Linked DNA regions of Homo sapiens: all the other regions are linked to region 3. Evidence: promoter capture Hi-C in 16 types of primary human blood cells and fetal thymus (Javierre and others, 2016). All regions are on one chromosome and are shown on one strand. The core of a region is centred on a gene start or on the middle of the fragment in contact, and the rest is flanking DNA. Distances in the headings are between cores, read along the strand shown. Region 1 has its middle 41 kb from the start of HSD17B6. Region 2 overlaps LRP1 (LDL receptor related protein 1). Region 3 holds the start of ZBTB39 (zinc finger and BTB domain containing 39). Region 4 overlaps LRP1 (LDL receptor related protein 1). Region 5 overlaps HSD17B6 (hydroxysteroid 17-beta dehydrogenase 6). Region 6 has its middle 69 kb from the start of SDR9C7.

Evidence for each region. Contacts are between HindIII fragments. The CHiCAGO score rates a contact against its expected background, and 5 or more counts as called.
Region 1: a contact is called between a fragment that was not itself captured here and the fragment with the promoter of ZBTB39 in region 3, in 6 of 17 cell types (M2 macrophages, M1 macrophages, M0 macrophages and 3 more). The highest score is 18.3, in M2 macrophages.
Region 2: a contact is called between a fragment that was not itself captured here and the fragment with the promoter of ZBTB39 in region 3, in 6 of 17 cell types (erythroblasts, activated CD4 T cells, endothelial precursors and 3 more). The highest score is 7.5, in erythroblasts.
Region 4: a contact is called between a fragment that was not itself captured here and the fragment with the promoter of ZBTB39 in region 3, in 1 of 17 cell types (erythroblasts). The highest score is 5.7, in erythroblasts.
Region 5: a contact is called between a fragment that was not itself captured here and the fragment with the promoter of ZBTB39 in region 3, in 5 of 17 cell types (M0 macrophages, M2 macrophages, M1 macrophages and 2 more). The highest score is 9.0, in M0 macrophages.
Region 6: a contact is called between a fragment that was not itself captured here and the fragment with the promoter of ZBTB39 in region 3, in 2 of 17 cell types (M2 macrophages and M0 macrophages). The highest score is 6.6, in M2 macrophages.

The regions. Positions count from the first base shown.
Region 1 is chr12:56,801,986-56,805,819 of GRCh38, reverse strand. No RefSeq gene overlaps it. Among named protein-coding and RNA genes, the nearest start is that of HSD17B6, 41 kb to the right of the region's middle. RefSeq lists an enhancer at 501-1,150. The HindIII fragment of the contact is 4,063 bases long and covers 1-3,834 here.
Region 2 is chr12:57,186,398-57,190,428 of GRCh38, reverse strand. LRP1 (LDL receptor related protein 1) reads right to left here. Exons shown (of 89, transcript NM_002332.3): 42 at 2,973-3,162. Among named protein-coding and RNA genes, the nearest start is that of MIR1228, 6.1 kb to the left of the region's middle. The HindIII fragment of the contact is 162 bases long and covers 2,650-2,811 here.
Region 3 is chr12:57,004,327-57,008,486 of GRCh38, reverse strand. It overlaps ZBTB39 (zinc finger and BTB domain containing 39), which reads left to right and starts at 1,941. Exons shown (of 2, transcript NM_014830.3): 1 at 1,941-2,082; 2 at 3,526-4,160. The coding sequence starts at 3,570. RefSeq lists silencers at 1,743-2,102, 2,123-2,272. The HindIII fragment of the contact is 1,523 bases long and covers 1,660-3,182 here.
Region 4 is chr12:57,167,471-57,171,120 of GRCh38, reverse strand. LRP1 (LDL receptor related protein 1) reads right to left here. Exons shown (of 89, transcript NM_002332.3): 19 at 3,597-3,650; 20 at 1,814-1,981. Among named protein-coding and RNA genes, the nearest start is that of LRP1-AS, 22 kb to the right of the region's middle. The HindIII fragment of the contact is 1,373 bases long and covers 1,004-2,376 here.
Region 5 is chr12:56,783,559-56,787,613 of GRCh38, reverse strand. HSD17B6 (hydroxysteroid 17-beta dehydrogenase 6) reads right to left here. Exons shown (of 5, transcript NM_003725.4): 4 at 2,598-2,761; 5 at 1-489. The coding sequence ends at 272. Among named protein-coding and RNA genes, the nearest start is that of HSD17B6, 22 kb to the right of the region's middle. The HindIII fragment of the contact is 2,491 bases long and covers 104-2,594 here.
Region 6 is chr12:56,863,567-56,867,545 of GRCh38, reverse strand. No RefSeq gene overlaps it. Among named protein-coding and RNA genes, the nearest start is that of SDR9C7, 69 kb to the left of the region's middle. The HindIII fragment of the contact is 2,184 bases long and covers 905-3,088 here.

The DNA of each region.
Region 1 (3,834 bases), core at 775-3,274, 200 kb after region 3:
GAGATATTTGTAGCTTTTGACAGTTGTGAGGGTGAACCAACCAGTGATCTCTGACTGCAGCTCAGAAGAAACAAAAAGGATGGGCCGTCAAACTCCAATGGTCATGCAAATGGAGCCTCGGACAATGGCTCCCTTTTACTGGAGACCCTTATATAGGCCCCTGAGAGAAAACCTGACTGCCATTTTCCCAAAAACAATGCCCCCTGTCAGCATGAAGCAGTTAAGAATGGTCACTGTCCCTATCCTAACGGCAGTTAGATGTACCTCTACAGAGTGGTGATTGATGGCAGTGGTGGGCCATCTAGAGTGGCCGCTGCCATCACACAGGCTGCAGCAGGGAGGTACAGCCAGAGCTGTATACTCCATGCAGCTGGTGGGAGCCTCAGACAAGTGGGAGCCCTGCCCCTTCTGATTTGTTAGGGTGGGAGCTCCCCAGGTGCAGACACAAGTCTGCCCAAGTTATGGCTGCAAACTGGGCCTCCCAAAGCACAGAGCAAGAAGAAGCCCCACCCCCTGGGGCACAGGTTAAGCTGCCCAAGTCATGGCTGCAGACCCAGGCCTCCCTGTGCTCTTGGGGGTGCTGGGAGCAGGGAGGAGCCCTGTCCTCCTAGGCGTGGCTGCAGCCACCCAAGTCGTGACTGCAGAGCATGACCTCCCACTCCACAGAGCAGGACCCCCACCCCCTGGATGCAGCTGCAGACACCCAAACTGTGGCTGTGAACCCAGGCATCCCTGCACTCTTGGAGACCCAGGATGGTCCTCTCCCCCTGCCCTCACAGGCTTGGAAGTGCCTGCTCCTGCCGCCTGGCTTCTCCCTGCTGTCGGTACCCACTCCGATCTAAGAGCAAAGTCATGGTCAAGCCTGAGCTCTGTCACAGCCCAGCCAGGTGTGTACATGCTCAGGGAAGTGTTGACACACCAGCCCCCTGCCACTTCAGCCCGCCTCTGGACCTTGGGTGCCAAAGAGCACAGGAGGGAAGCTGAGGGGGTGATAAGGGCAGTTTGGCACTGGCCTGCAGGTGCCCCTTGGCACGTACAGCCTGGGTGCCATGAATGGCAGCAGGAGGCAGACAGGTTCCTGGGGGGAAGGGAGTGGGTCCCACGTGAGGCCCCACCTTCAGGCCAGGGAGGGCCTGAAGGCTGGGGGCCAGGCTGCTGCTCCCATAGACTGCAGTGGAAACTTGTGGTGTCTTTTCCAGGCCCATCCATGGCTGCCCATGGAACAATCAGTGCTCACCTCCTCCCCTCTGAGGCCCATAAAAGCCCTGGGTTCAGCCAGAGCTGAGCAGATGTTGGGATGACCTGCCTGCAGACAAAAGCTACTCTCTCTGCTGATACCTGAACACTTGTCAGGATGAATTGCCTAGCAGAGAGGAGCTACCCTCTCTGCTAGGAGCTGAACACTCATCAAGACACCCTGGCTGCAGAAAGTAGCTGCCCCCTGCAGGTTTCCTCTGAGCTGTTCTATCACTCAATAAAGCTCCCCTTCATCTTACTCACTCTCCTCTTTTCTGCCTACCTCATTCTTCCTGGTCACAGGACAAGAACTCAGGACCCACTGAATGGCAAGGATAAAAGAGCTGTAACACAAACAGGGCTGAGACATGCCCCTTGCTTGCCTCATTGTGGGCAAAGAGAAGAAAAGAAGAGCTGCAGCCCTTTGGGGAACCCAGACCTGGGAGTTCCCCAGACCAGGGCTGTGACTCCTATTTTGGGGCCCTGTGGTTCCTGGCATCTCCGAGCTTCTGGGTGCCAATGTGTCCTCCAGTGCCAGCCGTAGAAGCTGCTTGCAGTGTGCCTGGTCTAGCTGCAGCCTCACAGAGAGCCAGAGCCCATGCCAGCACCTGGAGCTGCCCGGCCCACTGCGGCAGCTGGTACGTCTGACTGTGCACAGTGGCCGGATCCCACACTCACTCACACACTCCTCACTGTTCCATGCCTGACTCACCCTTGGCAGGCATGGGTCCCAGGCCAGTAGGGTGAGCCAAACACAGCCTGCCAGGCTGAGTAGGTGAAACAAGCCCAGTGGGCCCGAGCAAAACTCGGGCACAGGGGCCACCAGCCACAGAGGTTCCTGGCTAGAAAAACAACACCCCAAAGATCCCATAATACAATGAGATACCATCTCACACCAGTCAGAATGACTATTATTAAAAAGTCAAAAAATACCAGATGCTGGCGAGGTTGCCAAGAAAAAGGAATGCTTATACACTGCTGGTTGGAATGTAAATTAGCTCAACCATCGTGGAAAACAGTAAGGCAATTCCTCAAAGAACTGAATTCAGAACTACCATTCAACCCAGCAATCTCATTACTGGGTATATACCCAGAGGAATATAAATCATTCCACCATAAAGACACATGCACATTAATGTTCACTGCAGCACTACTCACAATAGCAAAGACATGGATTCCACCTAAATACCCATCAATGGTGGACTGGATAAAGAAAATGTGGTACATATACACCATGAAATTCTATGCAGCTGTAAAAAAGAACGAGATGATGTCCTTTGCAGGAACATGAATGAAGCTGGAAGTCATTATCCCTAGCAAACTAACACAGGAACAGAAAACCAAATACTGCATGTTCTCACATATAAGTGGGAGCTAAATAATGAGAACACATGGGCACAAAGAGGGGAATAACAGACACTGGGGCCTGCTTGAGGGACGCAGGAGGGAGGAAGAAAGAGAATCAGGAAAAATAGCTATCAGGTACTATGCTTAGTGTACTTGGGTAACAAAATGGTCTGTACACCAAACACCCATGACATGCGTTTGCCTGTATTAACAAACCTGCACATGTACCCCAGCCTGAACTAAAATAAAAGTTAAAAGTAAGCTGGGCATGGTAGCTCATGCCTGTAATCCTAGCATTTTGGGAGGTCCAGGCAAGTTAATTGCTTGAGCCCAGGAATTTGGGGCCAGCCTAGGTAACATGGTGAAACCCCATCTCTACAAAAAATACAAAAAGTTGCCGGGTGTGGTGGTGTGTGCCTGTAGTTCCAACAACTTTGGGGGCTGAAGCAGGGGGATTGCTTGAACCTGGGAGGTCAAGGCTACAGTGAGCACTGAGCTGAGACTACACCACTGCACTCCAGTCTGGGTGACAAGATGAGACCCTGTCTCAAAAAAAAGAAAAGAAAAAAAGTTTAATTTTTAAAAAGTTAAAAATAAATAAATACATTTTAAAAATAATCTCTCCCTCACAAAGCATCAGAAAAACAGACTTTACACTTCACATAATTTTATATTTTCTGTGTTTGCTTCATTCAGCAAATATTTATTGAATAACTACTAGGTACAAGATCTTGTATCTAGGTTAAAATTTTATTGACACATTTATTCATTTCTTCCCAAGGACTAAGGTCTTTCGTAATGCCGATGCCCTCCAAACATTCTACACTTTACTTAGATCAGTTGGCAGGATTAAAAGGTCTTCCTGTTAATAATCAGCTTGAAAAAAATTCTTTAAAACAGTGTTTGGCCACAAGAAACTTCCCAGCAATATCCATTACCCTCAAAATTAGCGCAATCTGGTTCCACTTTGTATAATAAAATAATGTGTTGTTTTTCAATTGCTATTGACCCCAGGTTGCAAGTTATATAAACTGAGTGTGCCCAGGTGAACCAAGAATGCAACCATGGGCAGCATCTAAATGCCTGAACCAAGGAAAGGGGATGGAATTAAGAAGTCGACACCAGGCCAGGCAGAGTAGCTCACACCTGTAATGCCAGTGCTTTGGGAGGCCGAGGTGTGAAGATTTCTTGAGGCCATGAATTTGAGACCAACCTAGGCAACACAGCAAGACCCTATCTCAACAAAAAAAG
Region 2 (4,031 bases), core at 1,481-3,980, 180 kb before region 3:
CAGTTTCCTCCTCTATGAGGTGGGGATGGTAGCACCACCTGCCTCGCAGGATGTGAGAGTGGAAGAAGTTAATCTCCATCTTAAGGACAGATGGCACACACTATGTGAGTATTTCCCAGGAGTTTATTCTTAACTGCTCTCTTCTGTGCAGGGAGGCTGGCTGTCTTCCAGATCATTCAGGAAGCCCTTGTGGAGCTGAGTGTGGCATGTGTCCCAGGTCCTGGGGTATGTGGGTCCTATCCTCAAGCAGCTCTCAAGAGTCCCCTTCTCCGTACTTTGAGGCCTTTGCATGTTTGGGGTTGGAGCCACCGTTCTGCCTCGTAACGGCTCCAACTTTGAATGAGCCTGTCGCCCCTCTGAGCCCTGGTTTCCTCTCAGTAAAGGAGGCAATGGGAACAGCCAGCCCCCAATTATGCCGTGCTCCTTGTGGGGTGGTGCTGAGGCTGGAGGGGGGCTGTGGAAGGCCTCAGGGCTGGTCATGCACTACCCTGGGTGTGACAGAGTGGTCCTTGGACCACCGGCATTGGATGGTGAGCCCTGGGTCCTCGGTCCCAGAGCTTGTCACTCAGCTAGGCCCAGGGCGGGGCAGGGGACTCCACATTCTCTTGCTCCTAGGCGATCCTTAGGCACAGTGGAGTCTGAGACCACCAAGCCACACAAAAGCCAGCTCCGTTCTCCAGTTCCCTAACAGGACCTGCCCCCGCCCCCACCCCAGTGCCTCTGGCCTCCTCCTACCTCTGCCCCTCACCATTCTGGCCACAGATCTGTCCTCTGGCCTGTGAACTTGTCTCCTCAGACCTCTCCAGGTCACACCCTTCTTGCCCACCCCCAGCGTCTCCAGCACCATTGAACTATCCCGCCTTCTGCTGGGCTCACGTAGGAAAATGGTGCTGCTCTGCCCCTCTGGAGACACTGGCTGCCCTGAGCCTCGGCGAGCTCGTGAGAAGCTCTGATCTTAAGGGCCTCATCCTGGAGGAGAGCAGGGGTTTGCGGTGGCTCTGGAATCGGGATGTAAGTTGGGAGGGAGGCGGCGTGTCCTTCTAGCCTCCATAAGGGAAAATGGGTATCCTGGGGCAGTGGCCAGTCATCTTCCTGGCTTGTCAGGATTGGACTTGGCCTGTCAGTCCCCACCAGGAACTCCTACACCTCAGGTGAAACTACTCACACCTGCAGTGAGAAGTGGTTTTCCTCCTGGCGTCAACAAACTCCTCCATGTGACACAACTGTGGTCTGGGTGAACCTGCTTCCCAGGAATGGGGCAGGAGGGAGAGAGAGGCTTTCCTGGGGTAGGTGCTCAGTGTCCAGGAACATGGCGGACCTTCTAACTATCCTACTGTGAGCTCTACAGGGCCATCAGTGCTCCAGTGCTGACGCGGGGAGGGCTCAGGAGGAGGCTGGGTTGTTGGAGTCTCCACTTGCCCCTGCCCTCTCCACTGGGGTCCACACTGGCTCCTTCTGATTCCCCGAAAGTGCCTGCTCCTTGTGGCCAGGGGGAGGGCCCCTCCTGCCAGCTCAGCTCTTTCTCCTGGGCACTGGGACCATGCTCCCACCCAGCCACTCCTGCCATCCTCAGACGCTGGCTAACATGCCGCCTCTTCAAGGACACGTTCCCTGACTTCCAGGTGGGGCCAGTCCTCAGCACACAGCCACGAAGCTCTTCATGACGCCCCTCGCGCTCCCCACTGGGTCCTCTGCACCTTCTTTGCCCTCAAAAGCCACTCGCTGAATGCGTGATGGAATCCCCTGGCCTCATAAGAAAGGAGCTTGGTGGGCAGCCAGGGGGTCACGTCCTCTGGGACGAGGGCCAGGCAGCCTTGCTGGACCCTCCAGGGAAGCTCCAGACTCATGAGGGACAGGCTCTGAGGCCATCCCCAGACAGGTGAGGCAGCCGAGGGTCATGGAAGGGGGGACTGGACCTTCATCATCAGCTGCAGATGTGCCAGATGACAGAGGCAGGAGGAAACAGAGGGTCCTTGAGCCAGGTTGGAGGTGACTGACATTGGGGGACTGGTGGGGGGAATCTGGGTTCGGGACACTCACGTATCTATACAGCTGCTTTGGGTTGTGTTTACTAGTTTCCTAGTAAAGCTTTTGAAAAACATTCCAAGCACTGCTGAATTGGGAAAAAAATGTTGCTAACATGTGGGCCTGGATCCCTAAGGCGAGGGGGTGGCTCACTAGAGGCCCAAACAGCCGGGATGAGGGCTGCCCCTGCGGGAGAACAGAGCAGGCTGACTGCGGGTGAACCCTCCAGGGGGAGCACCCACCCCCGGGTGCTTTCTGCCACCTGTCCTGGCTTGTGCTCCTAACTCCTCCGCACCCTGACCTCACTTCCTGGCTGGGCTCAGGCCTGCCTATGCTCTATGGCATGCAGAGGTCCCCCTCTGTCCTCCCTGCCTTGAATTTGCCTTTCTTCAGGCTTTTGCTCAAAGCACTTCCCCTGTCCGAGCTGGCCTTCCTTGTCTTTTCCAGTTCCAGGCTCTGGGCCAATCTACTGCCTTCATGACACCTGTGGTCACCCGTATACAGCCCTGTGCCAGTTACCATTACTTCCCACAAGTATGACTTCTCAACCCAGCTAGGTGGCTTGGTAGGCCCAGCCTTAGGCTTCTGTACGAAGGGTTCGACAAACATTCTTTGCCTGAAGCTTTGGATCCCAGAGCTAGAGGCCCTACCCTGTGCCTCCAACATGGTGCTCTGATGAATGAATCAATCACAAAGGCAGAGCGTCCCCCACAGTCCTGATGCTCCCTTTGGTGCAGGCAGCTGGAATCTTAGCCAGCTTGTATCACAGAAGAGGAACCTGAAGCTTAGGAAGCTTTTGCACCTCTCCCCAGATCACACAGCAGGGAAGGGTGGAGCTCAAGTGAGGGCCTGCCTCTCCTGCACCCCCGCTTGGATCTGCCTGGGGAGTTTCTGCCACCCCGAGTCCCACCTCTCCCTGCTACCCCCATCCCCAGGCAGCAGCTCACTTCTGGCACTCGTCCAAAACGAAGGCCCGTGGGTGGTCATCTCCAGACATAGTGATGACGGTCTCACGCTCGAAGGCCCCTGGGCGGGTCTGGTCCACTGTGTGGCGCGTGATGGTGGATGTCGTGTAGCTTGTCCAATAGAGAGTGTCCCAGCCACGGTGATAGGCCAGGCCTTCCACGGAGCCCACGTCTGTGAAGAGACAGGAGCAGCGATTTGTCAGGAGGGCCCAGAGGGCAGCCTGCACAGGAGCCGTGGGGGACAGCCTGGGGCAGGTGCTCTCCTGGCTGGAAGGCGAAGTGTGGGGTATGGGAGTGCAAGAGGTGCAGCAGAGAGGGCTCGGGGGCACCAGGGTCTGACTCAGTGCCCCCAACCTCTGCTGTCCTCACTCAAATGACCTGTGGTCACCTCTCAACCCTCTCCCACTGAGGGCAATCGGGCTTTCTGGTGTGTTTGCACTTTCCTGGAGCTGCAGTTCTGCTGAGCTGAGTGCAATGTAGATTTCTGTAAATCAAATCCTGCTTGGGCTGTACTGGGGAGCCCCCTACTTAAAAAGACCCTGAGCTGGATTGATTATTTTATAAAGCAGACATCTTAAACTCAGGTTAAAGAACCAAGGCACAGTGAGAGACACAGCCGAACAGCAGTGTAAGAGAAAAGACTAGAGTGTTAGTGGCTATAAGCGATGGTGGCTGCCAAAGGGCCATGCTGTGGTATGGTCTGCAGACAGCCGGAGGTGAGGGGACATCCCTTCCAGGGGTCTGGGGATTGATGTGCCAGTCTCTCCTGATCAAGCTACGAGCATGGAGTACCGAGTTTAGCTTCGGATGCTACATTTTTAGACAGACATGCAGGCTGGACTATGTGCAGCAGAAAATGTCCCAGAAAAGGCTGAAAGGACAGGTCTGTATACGTAGCACCTAGTTCGGTGCCTGGCAGGTCTTTATGGACCAGCTGAATGAATATATGAGCAAATGAATGAGTCAAGGGACCCGGTGGTAACCAGGCTGAAGAAGAGAAAATGTAGCAGGATGCAGTTTTCAAAGAGCTGAAAGGCTGTC
Region 3 (4,160 bases), core at 692-3,191:
TTGACTTTTCAAAATTATCTATCTATAGGGCTTAAAACTGGGGACACTTTTGCAGAGTCTAGGGGCTTTCTCTGGGTCATGAAAGCTACAAGAGTTGGTTCTGCTCAGACTTGGTGGGAGTTAGGCTTATAGGCTGAGATGAGACAATTGCTTTGCAAGTAGGAACATTAAGTGCAGAAAGATTGCTCTCTAGTGGGACTGACAAAAATTGCAGTACTGGGGACTCCAGAAAAAAATGAAGACAAATGTTAAGTTAGATTCCTGTGTTTGTACTTGAAGAATGTGTGAAGGGATCCTGACCCTCCCTTTCCTGTTGTAAAACAGTTGATGCCTAAAGAGATCTGGTCCACAAGACCTTGACTAAATTCCTGGCCCTTTCTTCTCCATTTAACTTTGTATATGTTTGTTATTGTGACTATATGGTGATTTACTTTAAAAAGACTTCAGTATAAGTGGTATATACTTTCACCTGCGTCTTTTGGATGATTTGTTTTCATGTGAAGTTTATTGGGGTCAACCCTCCAGAGATGGCTGGGGCAGTTGGTTAGAAAGACTGTATAGGCCCAGGCCCTTGCAAGCCCAGCAGCCCTCTGTCTCCAGAGTCATGCTGGAGGTCTGGACCTGCTGGCTGTGTGATATTCCACTTTAGGGAGACTCAGTCACCTTGCACAACTGTGAGAGCTGGGCCTGCCACTGAAACATTGTGTCAACCTCTAAGTGACCCTTTCACTAGATGGTAAAGTGAGATGCCTCATCCCCAAACTATAAGAACAGTTCTATGGCTGTTTTTGTATCTCCTGGCTAACAAATGTTACATGTTTGGCAGCATTTGGTATAGTGCTTGCTTTCAGTATAGTCTGCCACCAGTTAATGAGGTTGTGGAAAGGAGGACACACAATCTCCCAAATTCATCAAGAGAATGGACAATTGCTGAATGGCCAAACTGGCTTAGATCTGTTGGCAACATTCAGTGTGTCCCTTCCTTTCCACTTATCCATCAAGGAATTACTGAATCCTACCATGCGCCTGTCCTGGGAGTTTGTCCTTGGCTGCAAGCTATTTTCAGGCAGTGACTGGGATGGGATGGGAGAGAGGATGAAACTGAAGGGTCTTGGAGCCTAAGAGCTTCCTCTGTACTGAGGGAGGGAGGGCGACATGACGAAGACTTCTAATGTCTTTGGTGGTGGTGGGTGGGGCAGGCAGTGTAGGTGGTTTTCGTTTGATGACAATTCTTGGGCAGAAGCATTTGAAAAGATGATTTGGGAGAAGGGTGGGGAGGAAGAGTGATCGAGTTCTACACAGAGTTGGGGAGGGCAGGCTTCAGGAAGCAGGCCTGGGGTGCCAAAGTACAGTGAGATCCGGTGACTTTCTTCATTTGGCCACCTAGATGGAAGGAGGGACAGCAGTGGATTATCAGAAGGGTCCAGTAGTAGCGGTCTAGCCCTCAAGTGCTCCTTCATTCATTCAAGCAGGCTTAATGTATTAAGCACTTATTGTGCCAGGAAGTGTGGTAAGGGTCAGTGTGGACCTGCGGCCGTGTGCAAAGCCACAGATCCCTGCCTTCAGGAAGCCCACAGCCTAGTGGAGGAGATATATAGTAATCAAACAATCTTACAACATTTTGTAAAATGCCCATAGTAGATGTTCTGAGGAGAAGCTTTTGGAACTGTGAGCGTAGAACAGGGGAGGTGAAGAGAGTTTGGATAGGGTTTTTCACTCTTCAGGCACCAAGTCCCGCGCACAGTGGATGGGCGCTTAGAAAAAGCCAGCCTGGGGACTTGGAAGCCCCTGCACCCCTCGCGCAGGTCCTGGACCCGGCCCCGCCGTGGGGGGGCGCTGCCTCCTCCCGGGCGGCGGGGGGCGCTGCGGCCGGGCGGCGGGGGGCGCTGCCTCCTCCGGGACGGCGGGGGGCGCTGCGGGCCGGGCGGCGGGGGCGGCCCGGGCCGTCGCGGCGAGCCGCGCGGCGGATGGAGAGTCTGGCCGCGGCCGGCGGCGCCGCCTCCTCGTCGGGCCGGGCACGGCGGGCCGGGGCCTTTGTGTGAAGCGGCGGCGGCGATGGTGCTCGGGGCGCCGCAGAGCCGGGTAAGCGCGGCCAGGCCGAGGGCTGCCCCTGGCCGAAGCCCGACCTTCGGCCCGGCATTTATCTCGCTCTTGCTGGGGTCCCTCTTGCCCGCTCCCTTCGGCCGGACCCATCCTCCCCGCCCGCGCGCCGACCCCGGCCGGCCCCGCCGCCCCTCGCTTGGCCCCTTATTCAGCCCCATGCCCCCAACAGGCTCACCCGGGTGAGCCCCGCGCTGTTTGTGGAGGGACTGAGGCGCTCGTTGCCTCCAGAGGGAGCGCCCCAGCCGATGCAGCGCCCTTCCCTCCCAGATGCGACTCCGGAGGGGAGACCGCGGCGCCCGGGGATTGTTGGGGTGTCCTTGGAAGTTCCCAGCTTCCCCCTCTCCCACCCTCTCCTCTGGCTGCCCAGTGCTCCGACCCGCCCATCGTTCAGGGGTGGCCACCAGGGCCCGGGAGATGCTTGGCCGGTACCCCACAATACTTAGACGCTTCCTGGGCCCCAGAAAAAGTTGGGAGTTGTTAGAATCTGGAGAGATGGAGAAAGGGGCTGTGTTGGGCAGAGTTGTGAGACTGAACAGGGATGCAAGTAGCTCTTCTTCCTTAGTCGTGCAGGAGTCAGAAAGGGCAGAAAGTGGTAGTGAACAAGCCTCTAGGAGTCTTACCTGTATAATTAGAAGTCTTTCTTGCGGCATCAAGTAAATCTGTTAGTGCAGGGACAACAAAATATAAACCCCGAAAAGGGTGGCGAAAAAGAATACAACATATTAAAGTAATATTAAATACTACCACAGTTGTGTTCTACTTTTCTTACTGTGCATTCTGAGTGTTTTAACTTCACAGAATACAGGGACTGTGATAAAGCAATATCTGGAGGGGCTCTGGGTTATCGAAAGGCCAGAGAGCGGGTATGTAGTATAGGCAGAGAGAGATGGGGATTCAAGAACGTGAGATTTATTTGGAGATTATTGAGAGGTTGAAGACACAGCAATGACAAAGCTAAAAAACGGAACCACCTTATATGTTCCTCAGTAGCTAGTGGAGCTTTGATAGTTGTGTTCAAGCATGTGCATGGTATTTGGCATCATGAGGGAAAAGAATATGCTCAATGAATTAGGAAAGCTTGTATTTGGGAGGAAATTAATAGGAGAAAAATTTGATCCAGTGGCTCTGGTAATGAAGTATAAGATTGTGTCCAAGGGAATGCCTCTGGTTCGTCTCTAGGCACCAGCTTAAAACCAAGCTATCAGATTGTCATCAGTCGTTTTGGTTTTTGTCATAACTCTTTGAGTATATACAGGGGGAGATGTCATTGCCTTGTCATAATGGAGGAACTCTCCATGCCAGTTTACTCCTGATCCCTACCTGGGGCTTGGAAGCATTCAGAGTGATGGTATTTTCTCCTGCATAGCCCCTCTTTTGCACGGATGTGTTTGGCCATCCATCTTTTTCTCTTGCTATCCACAGATTAACTGTGCTGATAAGGAGGTAATTTCATAGGAGCTGCTAAGATGGGCATGAGGATCAAACTGCAAAGCACCAACCACCCCAACAACCTGCTGAAGGAACTCAACAAGTGCCGGCTCTCAGAGACCATGTGCGACGTCACCATTGTGGTGGGGAGCCGCTCCTTCCCGGCCCACAAGGCTGTGCTGGCCTGTGCAGCTGGCTACTTCCAGAACCTCTTCCTGAATACTGGGCTTGATGCTGCCAGGACCTATGTGGTGGACTTCATCACCCCTGCCAACTTTGAGAAGGTTCTGAGCTTTGTCTACACTTCAGAACTCTTCACAGACCTGATCAATGTTGGGGTCATCTACGAGGTAGCTGAGCGTCTGGGTATGGAGGACCTCCTCCAGGCCTGTCACTCTACCTTTCCTGATCTGGAGAGCACTGCCAGGGCCAAGCCCCTGACCAGCACCAGTGAGAGCCACTCTGGTACCCTGAGTTGTCCTTCGGCAGAACCTGCCCATCCCCTTGGAGAACTCCGAGGTGGTGGGGACTACCTTGGTGCTGATAGAAACTATGTGTTGCCCAGTGATGCTGGAGGGAGCTATAAAGAGGAAGAGAAGAATGTTGCCAGTGACGCTAACCATAGCCTG
Region 4 (3,650 bases), core at 441-2,940, 160 kb before region 3:
ACACAGCCTCCAGAGGCCCCTTCTCAGAACCCTAAGGGATATCACCTGTGCCCCTCACCCTCCCCTTCACAGAGATAGCCCTGGAGACGCAATTACTATTTCCCAAGCTTCCTGTGGCCTTCTCTGTCCTCCCTCTCAGGGCAGGGCTCAAGGTGGGCACTCAACGCTGTCCAGTCTTCTCCTACTAGGGTGGGAATGTGCCCTAACTCTATAAGGCAGAGGCTGTAATCTAGTGGTCCATGGGTCAGATGAGGCCTGCAGGAAGAGTTTGGTCTGTAGTTTTTTTTAAACTTTTTTTTTCTTTTGAGACAAGGTCTTATTCTGTCACCCAGGCTGGAGTGCAGTGGCGAGCTCACAGCTCACTGCAGCCTCAACCTCCTGGGCTCAACCTCTCACCTCAGCCTTCTGAGTAGCTGGGACTACAGGCATGTGCCTCCATGCCCAGCTAATTTTGTTTATTTTTTGTAGAGAAAGGGGTCTCACTATGTTGCCCAGGCTGGTCTTAAACTCCTGGAAACAAGTGATCCTCCTGCCTTGCCTCCCAAAGTGATAGGATTACAGGTGTGAGTCAACACACCCAGCCTTTTTTTTTTTTCTTTTCTTTTTTCAAGATGGGTTCTCCCTATGTTAACCAGGTTGGTCTTGAACCCCTGGCCTCAAGTGATCCTCCCACTTCACCCTCCCAGAGTGCTGGGATTATAGGCATGAGCCACCATGCCTGGCCTGCACCCAGCCTTTTAAAACTTCTAAAATCAACTGCCAGTTGGTATGGCTTGAATTGTGTTCCCTAAAAAGATATTAGTCCTATCCCATAATACCTGTGAATATGACTTTATTTGGAAATAGTGTCTTTGCAGATGGTCAACTTAAGATGAGGTCATAAGGGTGTATCCTAATCCAATATGACAGGTGTCCTCACAGAAAGGGGAAATGGGGATCTGGTGACAGACATGCCCACAGGGAGGACACCGTGTGAAGATGAAGGCAGAGATCGGGTCAAGCTTCGACAAGCCAAGGAGCTGCAAAGATTGCCAGCAAACCGCGGAGGCTGGGGAGAGGCCTGGGACAGAATCTCCCACACGGCCTCAGAAGGAACCCACCCTGCCAACAGTTGGGTCTGGGACTTCCAGCCTCCAGAACTGTGAGACGAGAGAAACTAATACTGTAGTGTTAAAAATTTGGTAGTTTTCACATAAAAATCTGCACATCTTCCAGAGCTAGGAAGCCAGCATTCCTTGAGAGGGCCCATCCCTCCAGAAAACTAGGTCCCCACCGCCCCCGAGGCTGGGCCCCAGAGGCCAGGGCACTGGGAGCCTTGTGGAGCCAGGCCCTCTCTCCTCTGTCTCTTCAGGCTCATTCATCCCTGCCTGCAGCATCCTTTTCTCAAGCTACTATTTACCAAACACAGGCCGTGTGCTGAGCACTTTTCGTGCGTGATCTCACTAAACTCCCACATCAGCGCTGTGATGTTGGTGCTATTATTACCCCACTTTGCAGACGAAACTCACAGAGGCCCATGGAGATTAAGTAACTTGCTCAAGGCCACCCAGATAATAAGCTGCAGAGCTGGAGCTCAAACCCAAGGCCACCAACTGCAAAGCGCATGATATTAACAGCGTGTGGCAATGATTTTTCGGCAACCTCCCTCTCCCACAGGACCGGGAGCTCCTGAAGGACAAGAGCCATGCCTAGGCTACCTCTGGCTCCCAGATGGTGGCCGACACACCGTGGGTCTGAAAGACAGATGGATAGGCTGGGTGTCTGATGCAGGGGGCTCGATCTCATCCCCACCCCACGGGCCCCTGGTGCCCACCCTGGTTGGTGCAGTTGGCGTGTGTCTCATCACTGTAGTCTCCGCAGTCATTGTCCCCATCGCAGGTCCAGTGCTCGGGGATGCAACGCCCGCTGTTGCACTTGAACTGGGTGCTAGAACAGGAGTGGCTGCAGCCGGCTTCGTCACTGTTGTCCCCACAGTCATTGTCTGGCGGTGGGGGAAGAAGGGGAGAGGCAAAGCGGGAGTTGGTGGAGCAGCCTTCTCTGTGATCCCAGCTTGGGCCCCCTGCCCAGAACCCACCCTCAGCCCACCCTAACCCCCCCACTGGGAAAATAACAAACAGAAAAGACACAGAAACTGCATAGACTGCAGCATGCACCATGGCCCACGTGGTCAGGATGAGGAGGAGGAGAAGGCTCCTGGAGGGCCCCTCACTGAAGCTCAGAAAGGCTGGGTGCAGGGAACATTAAACATTTCATTTCCCCTTTCTGGCAGGTGTGGGAACAGGGGTCTGCTTGCTTTTGGGGGAAAGGCAGGGGTTTCTCTAGTTTTGGAGGGAGAGAGGTAGGTGGGGTGCAGGCGTGGCCGGCTTGAGACAAGCTTTACAGGCCTGCCCTGAGGCTGGCACTGCTGAATACCATGCTCTGGGTGCCTGGCTTACAGGGGCCCTGCCTGTGGCTGGCAAGAGTGGGGGCCACTTCTGGACCAAGCTCGCTGAGGCTGGCTGAAGGAAGCTCCTGCTTTCTCAGCATTGGGTGGGGGCTGCTTGACTTGACCCTCTGTATTTATGGGACATGTGGTGGAGACTGGGGTTTGGGTTATGTTCCTGCCTCTTTTCCAACTGGATTTGCTTCTCTAACTCTCTCCTCCCCTTGCATCTTGGGCTTTTTGTCACCACCTCTCTGTCATCTCCTTTCCTCAGAGGCTCCCTCTGCCGTCTCTGCTTCTTTCCTGACCACTATTTGCTTTCTCCCTCTGTTTTCTGCTCTCCCTCCTCTCTGTTGCTTTTTCTTCATATCCTAGCAGCTCTGGAGTAGGGGCCTGGAGAACCTGCAGGGGGCTGGGGCCAGCTGAGCTCTGGGTGATGGTGCATGTGCTTCTATGCACTGACCGGCAGGCTCAGGACAGGTCTGTTCGTCAGAGCCGTCCCCACAATCCTTCTCTGAAACACAGAAACCGCCGGGGCAACCATTGGCATGCGAGACACAGAAAAAGTGAGGGGCAACGTGGCACTGACCCAACACATCCGCTCACACATCAGCTGGGACAGGAACCACTGGGGCAGCACGTCACAACACAACACAGACAGAACAGAGCCCTGAGACACCACACACGGCAGTCACCTGCCCGCACATTTACACACATACTAGCCCTGGTGGCTCAAGGCTGACATCACCTGGTCCATGGCTATCTGCCAGGTGGGCTTCTGAGCCTGAAGCCCAGAGCCTGAGGGGTGCACCAAGGACTCCAGGAAATGGGGGTTTGCAAGGAGAAAGGAGTCAGGCACCGGTTTCTCCTTGCTCTGCCTCTCTGGCCCATCTCACTCATCTCTCCCTGGCCTCCGAGCCCTACTAGAGGGTGGGCAGCTCAGGCCCTGCCTGGGGTAGGAATGACACTAAAAGGTGATGGTCTCCCCTTGGTCCATCGTGGCTCCCTCCAGGCATTTCTGACTTCTCCTGTTTTCTCCCAGGCAACCCAGCAGGGATTCAGTGTCCTGGAGGGAGGCCCTGCTGGATTCTGAAGCCCTTTGCCTTCCCTGGAGGGCCTGGCTGTAGCCTCTAGCTGTCTTAGGAATCAGCAGGTGAGGAGAGCAAGCTCTTACCATTGTCGCATCTCCAGTTGATGTTGATACATCTGCCATTGTTGCAGGTAAACT
Region 5 (4,055 bases), core at 100-2,599, 220 kb after region 3:
CTACTCTGTTTAATAAGGCAAGAACAAATGATTCACTTTAGACAAATAGTCTCATCAAAAAAGGGCTAAAATAGTAAAGATTCATCACCTAAAGTGGTAAGCTTTGGATATCTGAAATATAAACATGTTAGTACTCTGATGATGCCAGATAAATGAATTTAGGCAAGAAAACACATTGTTACAAAAAGCCTGGGTTCTAAATCAGGATTACTGAGACACTAACAATTTCAGATTTTTGCCTTCATTCCAAGAAGCACCAACCCAGTTTTCTTTAGACTGCCTGGGCTGGTTTGGGCCAAGATCTAGTCAAAATGTAGTCTGCCAGTGATGTAGGTAAATAAGATAGAGGGATGAAGAAAAATTTAGCATCCCAGCCAGCTGAATATCGAGTTCGCGGATGCACCGATGTCAGAGCATGTTCCATGCAGTCAGTGACCAGGTTCAGGTTTGTGCTACAATTCAACAGCCCTTCCTTCATGATATTGTAAACTGTATACAAAAAAAGAAATGGTGGTCAACAATCTTATTCCTTATATTTTTAAGATCATGCAGTCACAGAAGTCTCACCACATCTAATTTCTACAAAATAGAATGATCTAGAATGTGCATCCCAATATGATAGCCACTAGCCACATGTAGCTATTGAGCACTTAAACAATAGCTAATGCACTGGAATAAAAACTAAATTTTGGATTTTATTTAATTTTAATTTTAAAACTCAATCATTTTTCTTTTTTTGTTTGGTTGTTTTTTGGGGTTTCTTTTGAGACAGGGTCTTGCTCTGTCACCCAGGTTGGAGTGTAGTGGTACAATCTCAGCTCACTGCAACCTCTGCCTCCCAGGCTCGTGATCCTCCCTCCTCAGCTTCCCACATAGCTGGGACTACAGGTTCGCATCCCCATGCCCAGCTAATTTTGTTTATTTTTTGTAGACACAAGGTCTCACTATGTTGCCCAGGCTGGTCTTGAATTCCTGGGCTCAAGCGATCCTCCCACATCAGCCTCCCAAAGTGCTGGAATTATAGGTGTGAGGCACCACGCCTGGCCTCAAAACTCAATTCTGATGGCTGGGTGCAGTGGCTCATGCCTGTAATCCCAGCACTTTGGGAGGCCGAGGTGGGTGGATAATTTGGGGTCAGGAGTTCGAGACCGGCATGGCCAACATGGTGAAACCCCATGTCTACTAAAAATACAAAAATTAGCCAGGCTTGGTGGTGCATGCCTGTAGTCCCAGTTACTCAGGAAGCTGAGACAAGAGAATTGCTTGAACCCGGGAGGCAGAGGTTGCAGTGAGCCAAGATCACGCCACTGCACTCCAGCCTGGGTGACAGAGCGAGACTCTGTCTCAAAAAAAAAAAAAAAAAACACACAACTTAATTCTGTTACTAGAGGATTTTTAAATAGGTTTAGAACAACACAGATATGGGAATATACTTTTTCAACTGGAAATTTTTTTAACATTATTGAGATATTCATATATCATAAAATTCAGCCATTTAAAGTGTACAAATCAATAATTTTTAGTATATTCAGAGTTGTGCAATCATCATCACAATCTACATTTAGAACATTTTCATCATCCCAAAAAGAAACCCTGTACCTATTAGAAGTCATTCCCATTTTTCACCGCTGCTGCTACCTCCTCCTCCAGGTCTTCAGAATAATATTCTTATAGGAAATTGACAAATCCCACTCCCACAAAGCTCCTATCACCTGAACAAGAGAAATATAGCCTCAGGGAATGGCCCATAGGGCTCTGCAAAGACTTATCCTCACTGACTTACCTCTTCCCACCTACATGCTTTCTCCTGTCACATTAAGACACATAGTTTGTGGACAAGCCCTTTGTTATCAAAAGGTAAACAATGATGAAGACTGCACTTTAGTTGAGCAGACATCTCACACCAGCCCTGCAATGCTACCAAGGGGCACACCCTCTCAAGGGTCCATGCCTCTAAGTATGTAATACCTCCTAGTGCTCAGGTGCCCTGGCCCACAGAGGACAAGGCAGGGAAGAGCCTGGCCCCAGGCCGCCTATATGTCCCCCTCCTCAACCATGATAGTCATCAGACCAAGCCAACCATGAGACCACTGGGACCTTCCTGACTTCCTTCTGTTCTGGGAATGCTTTATTTAAGGAGCTTTGTCCTGAGAGGATCTGCCAATCATTGTCCACCAACCCTCTTTTCCCCTTCTCATGCAAGGGTACTGATATGGTTTGGCTTTGTGTCCCCACCCAACTCATCTTGAATTATAGTCCCATAATCTCCACATGTCGTGGGAGGGACCTGGTGGGAGGTACTGAATCATGGGGGTGGTTCCCATATGCTGTTCTTTTAGTAGTGAGTTCTCACAAGATCTGATGGTTTCATAAGGGGCTTTCCTCTGCTTGCACTCATTCCCTCTCCTGCCATCCTGTGAAGAGGTGCCTTCTGCCATGATTATAAGTTTCCTGAGGACTCCCCAGCCATGCAGAACTGTGAGTCAATTAAACCTCTTTTCTTTATAAATTACCCAGTCTCAGTTATTTCTTCATAGCAGCATGAGAATGGACTAATACAGGGTACCCATTATCCCTATCAAAAGAAAAAAGCTTACGGGCATCAAAATACTGCTGTCCATAGGTCTCCTTAATATGCTTGGGGGCTTCTTTCCAACTTTGCTTCATTCGCTCTAAGGACTGTGTCATGTTTGTCATTCCCGTTCTGAAGTAGCCAGGTTCAACTATGCTGATTTTCACCCCAAAATGTTGAATCTCACGCCTGAAATAAAACCCCACAAGTTATGATTAAAGACCACCACCATTTCAATGCTTTCAGGAAGGAAAAGCAAAACAAAAAAGATTATAAAATACCTTTACTGAATATTTTAAAGAATAAAGAAATCTCCCTCTCCCTCTCCCTCTCCCTCGTCTCCCTCTCCCCACGGTCTCCCTCTCCCTCTCTTTCCATGGTCTCCCTCTGATGCCGAGCGGAAGCTGGACTGTACTGCTGCCATCTCGGCTCACTGCAACCTCCCTGCCTGATTCTCCTGCCTCAGCCTGCCAAGTGCCTGCGATTGCAGGCATGCACCACCATGCCTGACTGGTTTTCGTATTTTTTTGGTGGAGACGGGGTTTCACTGTGTTGGCCGGGCCGGTCTCCAGCTCCTAACCGCGAGTGATCCGCCAGCCTTGGCCTCCCAAGGTGCCGGGATTGCAGACGGAGTCTCGTTCACTCAGTGCTCAATGGTGCCCAGGCTGGAGTGCAGTGGCGTGATCTCGGCTCGCTACAACCTCCACCTCCCAGCCGCCTGCCTTGGCCTCCCAAAATGCCGAGATTGCAGCCTCTGCCCGGCTGCCACCCCGTCTGGGAAGTGAGGAGCGTCTCTGCCTGGCCACCCATCATCTGGGATGTGAGGAGCCCCTCTGCCTGGCTGCCCAGTCTGGAAAGTGAGGAGCGTCTCTGCCCAGCCGCCATCCCATCTAGGAAGTGAGGAGCACCTCTTCCCGGCCGCCATCCCATCTAGGAAGTGAGGAGCGTCTCTGCCCGGCTGCCCATCGTCTGAGATGTGGGGAGCGCCTCTGCCCCGCCACCCCGTCTGGGATGTGAGGAGCGCCTCGGCCCAGCCGCGACCCCGTCTGGGAGGTGAGGAGCATCTCTGCCCGGCTGCCCCGTCTGAGAAGTGAGGAGACCCTCCGCCTGGCAACCGCCCCGTTTGAGAAGTGAGGAGCCCCTCCACCTGGCTGCCACCCCGTCTGGGAAGTGAGGAGCGTCTCCGCCCGGCAGCCACCCCCTCCGGGAGGGAGGTGGGGGTCAGCCCCCGCCCGGCCAGCCGCCCCGTCCGGGAGGTGAGGGGTGCCTCTGCCCGGCCGCCCCTACTGGGAAGTGAGGAGCCCCTCTGCCCGGCCAGCCGTCCCGTCCGGGAGGGAGGTGAGGGGGGTCAGCCCCCCGCCCGGCCAGCCGTCCCGTCCGAGAGGGAGGTGGGGGGGGTCAGCCCCCCACCCGGCCAGCCGCTCCGTCCGGGAGGGAGGTGGGGGGGTCAGCCCCCGCCCGGCCAGCCGTCCTGTCCGGGAGG
Region 6 (3,979 bases), core at 747-3,246, 140 kb after region 3:
TTGTATAAGAAAGAATGTTGTATGGCAAATTTTTCTCCTAGAGTAAAATGATTGGTTATTTAAGAAAGAGAAAGTGTAAGAAAAAGCAGAATGTCCAAGCATATCATAAATGGTCTGAGTAAGTCATGATAAGGTTTATAAAAATAGCATTTATAGAGGAAATTTTCTGTGTCATCACTTTGTCTACAATTGGAGGGAAATTATTTATGGGTCTTACTAGGGATTGAACTTTGATGTGAAAAACACACTGATGCAGATTTTGTCCCGTGTGTTAGAATAGCAAGGTTTCTTTAGAATGTTGATTTGCTCTTAGTAAAATTATAGGAGGTTTTGATTAATTCTGAAATGTGTTTCTTTGACAGCCATCCTCTCAATTACAAACAGTTTCTATTTCTGCCACATTTCTCCCTGGAATCTATCTAACTTCTTTCTCTAGTTTCAGGTTGGAAATACAGCTCTACTTCTTTCTATCCTAAAAAGATATGGTTTTTGCTTGGTTGGGATGATAACATTCTCCTTCAACCTTTTTGTTGACTCCTGTAACATTTTTCTGGTTCTGCCAGTTCACTTTTCATCAGGTTTAACTTTCAGGTTATCTAAATGAACTTACCAAAAGAAAAAGCAATCACATTGCAAGAGATTTTCTTTTCTTTGCCTTGTGGGCAATTGGCCTAGGAAACAAAGATTCTGTTTTACCAAGATAATTTCCTGTGCTTCAAGTTATCTTTATTAGGTTTTTTATTACTTAGGAAAACTGAGCTTTAAAAGGGTTAAGGTTTTTACATTCATGTAACTTTTTCTATTGTTTTTGACATCTTTTGATTGTCAGTCTGGTTAAATGAATAACTATCATCTTGCAGCGAACTTTGATTCTATTGAATCAGATACTTTGAACTTTAAAGCTTGTGACATCTTTGGAAGGTTTCCTGGGATCAAAGCCCTAAATTAAATCTTTTAGATATTATTAGGAAGCATTGTCAAATAAAAATTATTTTTAACTTTCTTTAAGTTGCATGTGTAAATGTGTTATTAAAATGTGTTTCAAAATTTCATGTGATAAAATTCTGAGATATAGTGATATGTGTTGTCAATCAGCTATAGTCCAAAATTGCTTTTCATGGAACTGCTGATCAGTGTCAAGCAAGGTAAAATTGATTACATGAAATTAAGTAATTGATAAGGATAATGTTTTATGACTTTTATTTAGAGCATTCTTGGTCTTACATGTTTTGTTTTTCAGATTCAAGGAAATTTACTTCATAATTTTTTATAGTTTGTAATAATTTGGTAAAATATCCTTTCGTTAACAAAAGTGGAAGCATTTGCTTTTTCTCCCTACTTGAGATCTCCAAAATTTAGAAACTATTTTTGAGTATTCTTATTTTATTTACATGCTCTCTATAAGCAGGATACAAGTGGAATTCTCAGTTATAATATCAAGGTTTTGACTGAAATGTCATATTTAAGAATGTACATAAAATGCCTGGCTTCAAGAGTTCCCAGGCTTACCGTAAGTGAGTCAAAATTGCTACTTCCAGGCATGCCCAAGGACACTAAGATTGTAAGTGAAATCTAAAGTTTGCCTTCATTTGGCTTCCTAAACTCAAAAGGTTTTAAATTTAAGATTCCTATAAAATCAGTGTAAAAAGAAAAACTTATGTTTCCAAAGAAAAACTATATAACTGTTACTATATTGTAGATCTGTACATTGTTTTCAGATCCTTGTTATTTACCTGTAGACTGGACTACACCCTGAATTCTCCTAATTTCCTGATGCCTCTGCCAAACTCCAACAAGGAACACTCTTAGACAATTAACAGGTGCTTACCTGACTTTCTACCTTGCCTGGCCCAGGCTGTTCAAATTGGCTATGAGCTCTTAGTCACAGAAGTCCCACCAAGGGACTAGACAGACCCAGAGCAGGTAGCCACATCACTTCAACAATAATATGGGACAAAGACATAACACTGGTAGTCAATGCTGCCTATGGCAGGTTTCAACCAAAGGGAGTGAAATGTCAAAGTATGCCCCTGGCCAACAGACTAAATGAATTCCCCATGGCTAACTGAGGTGCTCAAAGTTACAGGAAGTATGGCTGAGAAGGCCTCAGGAAACTTACAATCATGGCAGAATGCAAAGGACAAGTAGGCACATCTTACATGCAGGAGCAGGAAGAAAAGAGTGAAGGGGGAGGTGCTATACACCTTTAAACCACCAGATCTCATGGGAACTCACTCACTATCATGAGAACAGCAAGGGGGAAATCTGCCCCCATGATCCAATCACCTCTCATTAGGCCCCCTCCTCCAACATTATGAATTACAATTCTATGTAAGATTGGGCAGGAACACAGATTCAAATTGTATCATTCTGCACTTGGCCCCTCCCAAATCTCAGGCTCTTCTCACATTACAAAATACAATCATCACTTCTCAAGAGTCCCCCAAAATCTTAACATATTTCAGCATTAACTCAAGAGTCCACAGTCCAAAGCCTCATCTGAGGCAAGGCAAGTCCCTTCCACCTGTGAGCCTGTAAAATCAAAGACAAGTTAGTTACTTCCAAGATACAATGGGGCTACAGACATTGAATAAATACACCCATTCCAAAAGAGATAAATCACCAAAACAAAGGGGCTACAGGTCCCATGCAAGTCCAAAATCCAGTAGGGCAGTCATTAAATCTTGAAGCCCCAAAATAATCTCCTTTGGCTCCATGTCTCACATGTAGGCTACACTGATGCAAGGGGTGGGCTCCCAAAGCCTTGGGCAGCACTGCTCCTCTGGCTTGCAGGGCTCAGCTCCCATGGCTGCTCTCAAGGGCTGGCATTGAGTGCCTGCAGCTTTTTCAGGTACATGGTACAAGCTGCCAATGGATCTACGATTCTGGTGTCTGGAGGATAGTGGCCCTCTTCTCACAGCTCCACTATGCAGTACCCCAGTGGGAACTCTATGTGGGGGCTCCAACCTCATATTTCCCCTCCACACTGTCCTAGTAGAGGTTCTCCATGAGGGCTCCATCCCTGCATCAGAATTCTGCCTGGACATCCAGGTGTTTCCATAAATTCTCTGAAATCTAGGTGGAAGCTTCCAAGACTCAACTTTTTCCCTCTGCGCACCCACAGGCTTAGCACCACAAAGAAACTGCCAAGTCTTAAAGGCTTGCACCCTCTGAAGCAGTGGCCTGAGATATATCTGGAGCCCTTTTAACCATAGCTGGAGCTGGAGCAGCTGGGGTGCAGGGAGCACTGTTCCAAGGTTGTGCAGGGCAGCAGGGCCCTTGGCCTGGCCCAAGAAACAATTTTTCCATTCTAGGCCTCTGGACCTGTGATGGGAGGGGCTGCTCTGAAGGTCTCTGTCATGGTTTCAAGGCATTTTCCCAATTGTCTTGGTTACTAACATTTGGCTCCTCTTAAGCCAATTTCTGTAGCTGACTTGAATTCCTTCCCTGAAAATGGGGTTTTCTTTTCTACCACATGGCCAGGCTGCAAATTTTCCAAACTTTTATGCTCTGCTTCCCTTTTAAATATAAGTTCCAGTTCCAGTTTTATGTCATTTCTTTGCTCATGAATATAAGCATAGGCTGCTAGAAGCAGCCAGGCCACATCTTGAATGCTTTGTTGCATAGAAATTTCTTCCACCAGATGGCCTCAATCATCACTCCCAAGCTCAAAGTTTCACAGATCTCTAGAGCAGAGACACAATGCCTCTAACCTCTTTGCTAAAGTATAATAAAAGTCACCTTTGCTCCAATTTCCATTAAGTTCTTCATCCCCATCTGAGACCTCCTCAGCCTGGACTTCACTGTCCATAACACTACCAGCATTTGGTCACAACCATTCAACAAGTCTTTCAGAAGTTCCAAACTTTCATTTTCCTGTCTTCTTCTGAGCCCTCCAAATTGTTCCAACCTCTGCCCATTACCCGGTTTCAACTCACTCACTATCATGAGAACAAAAAGAGAGAAATCTGCCCCTGTG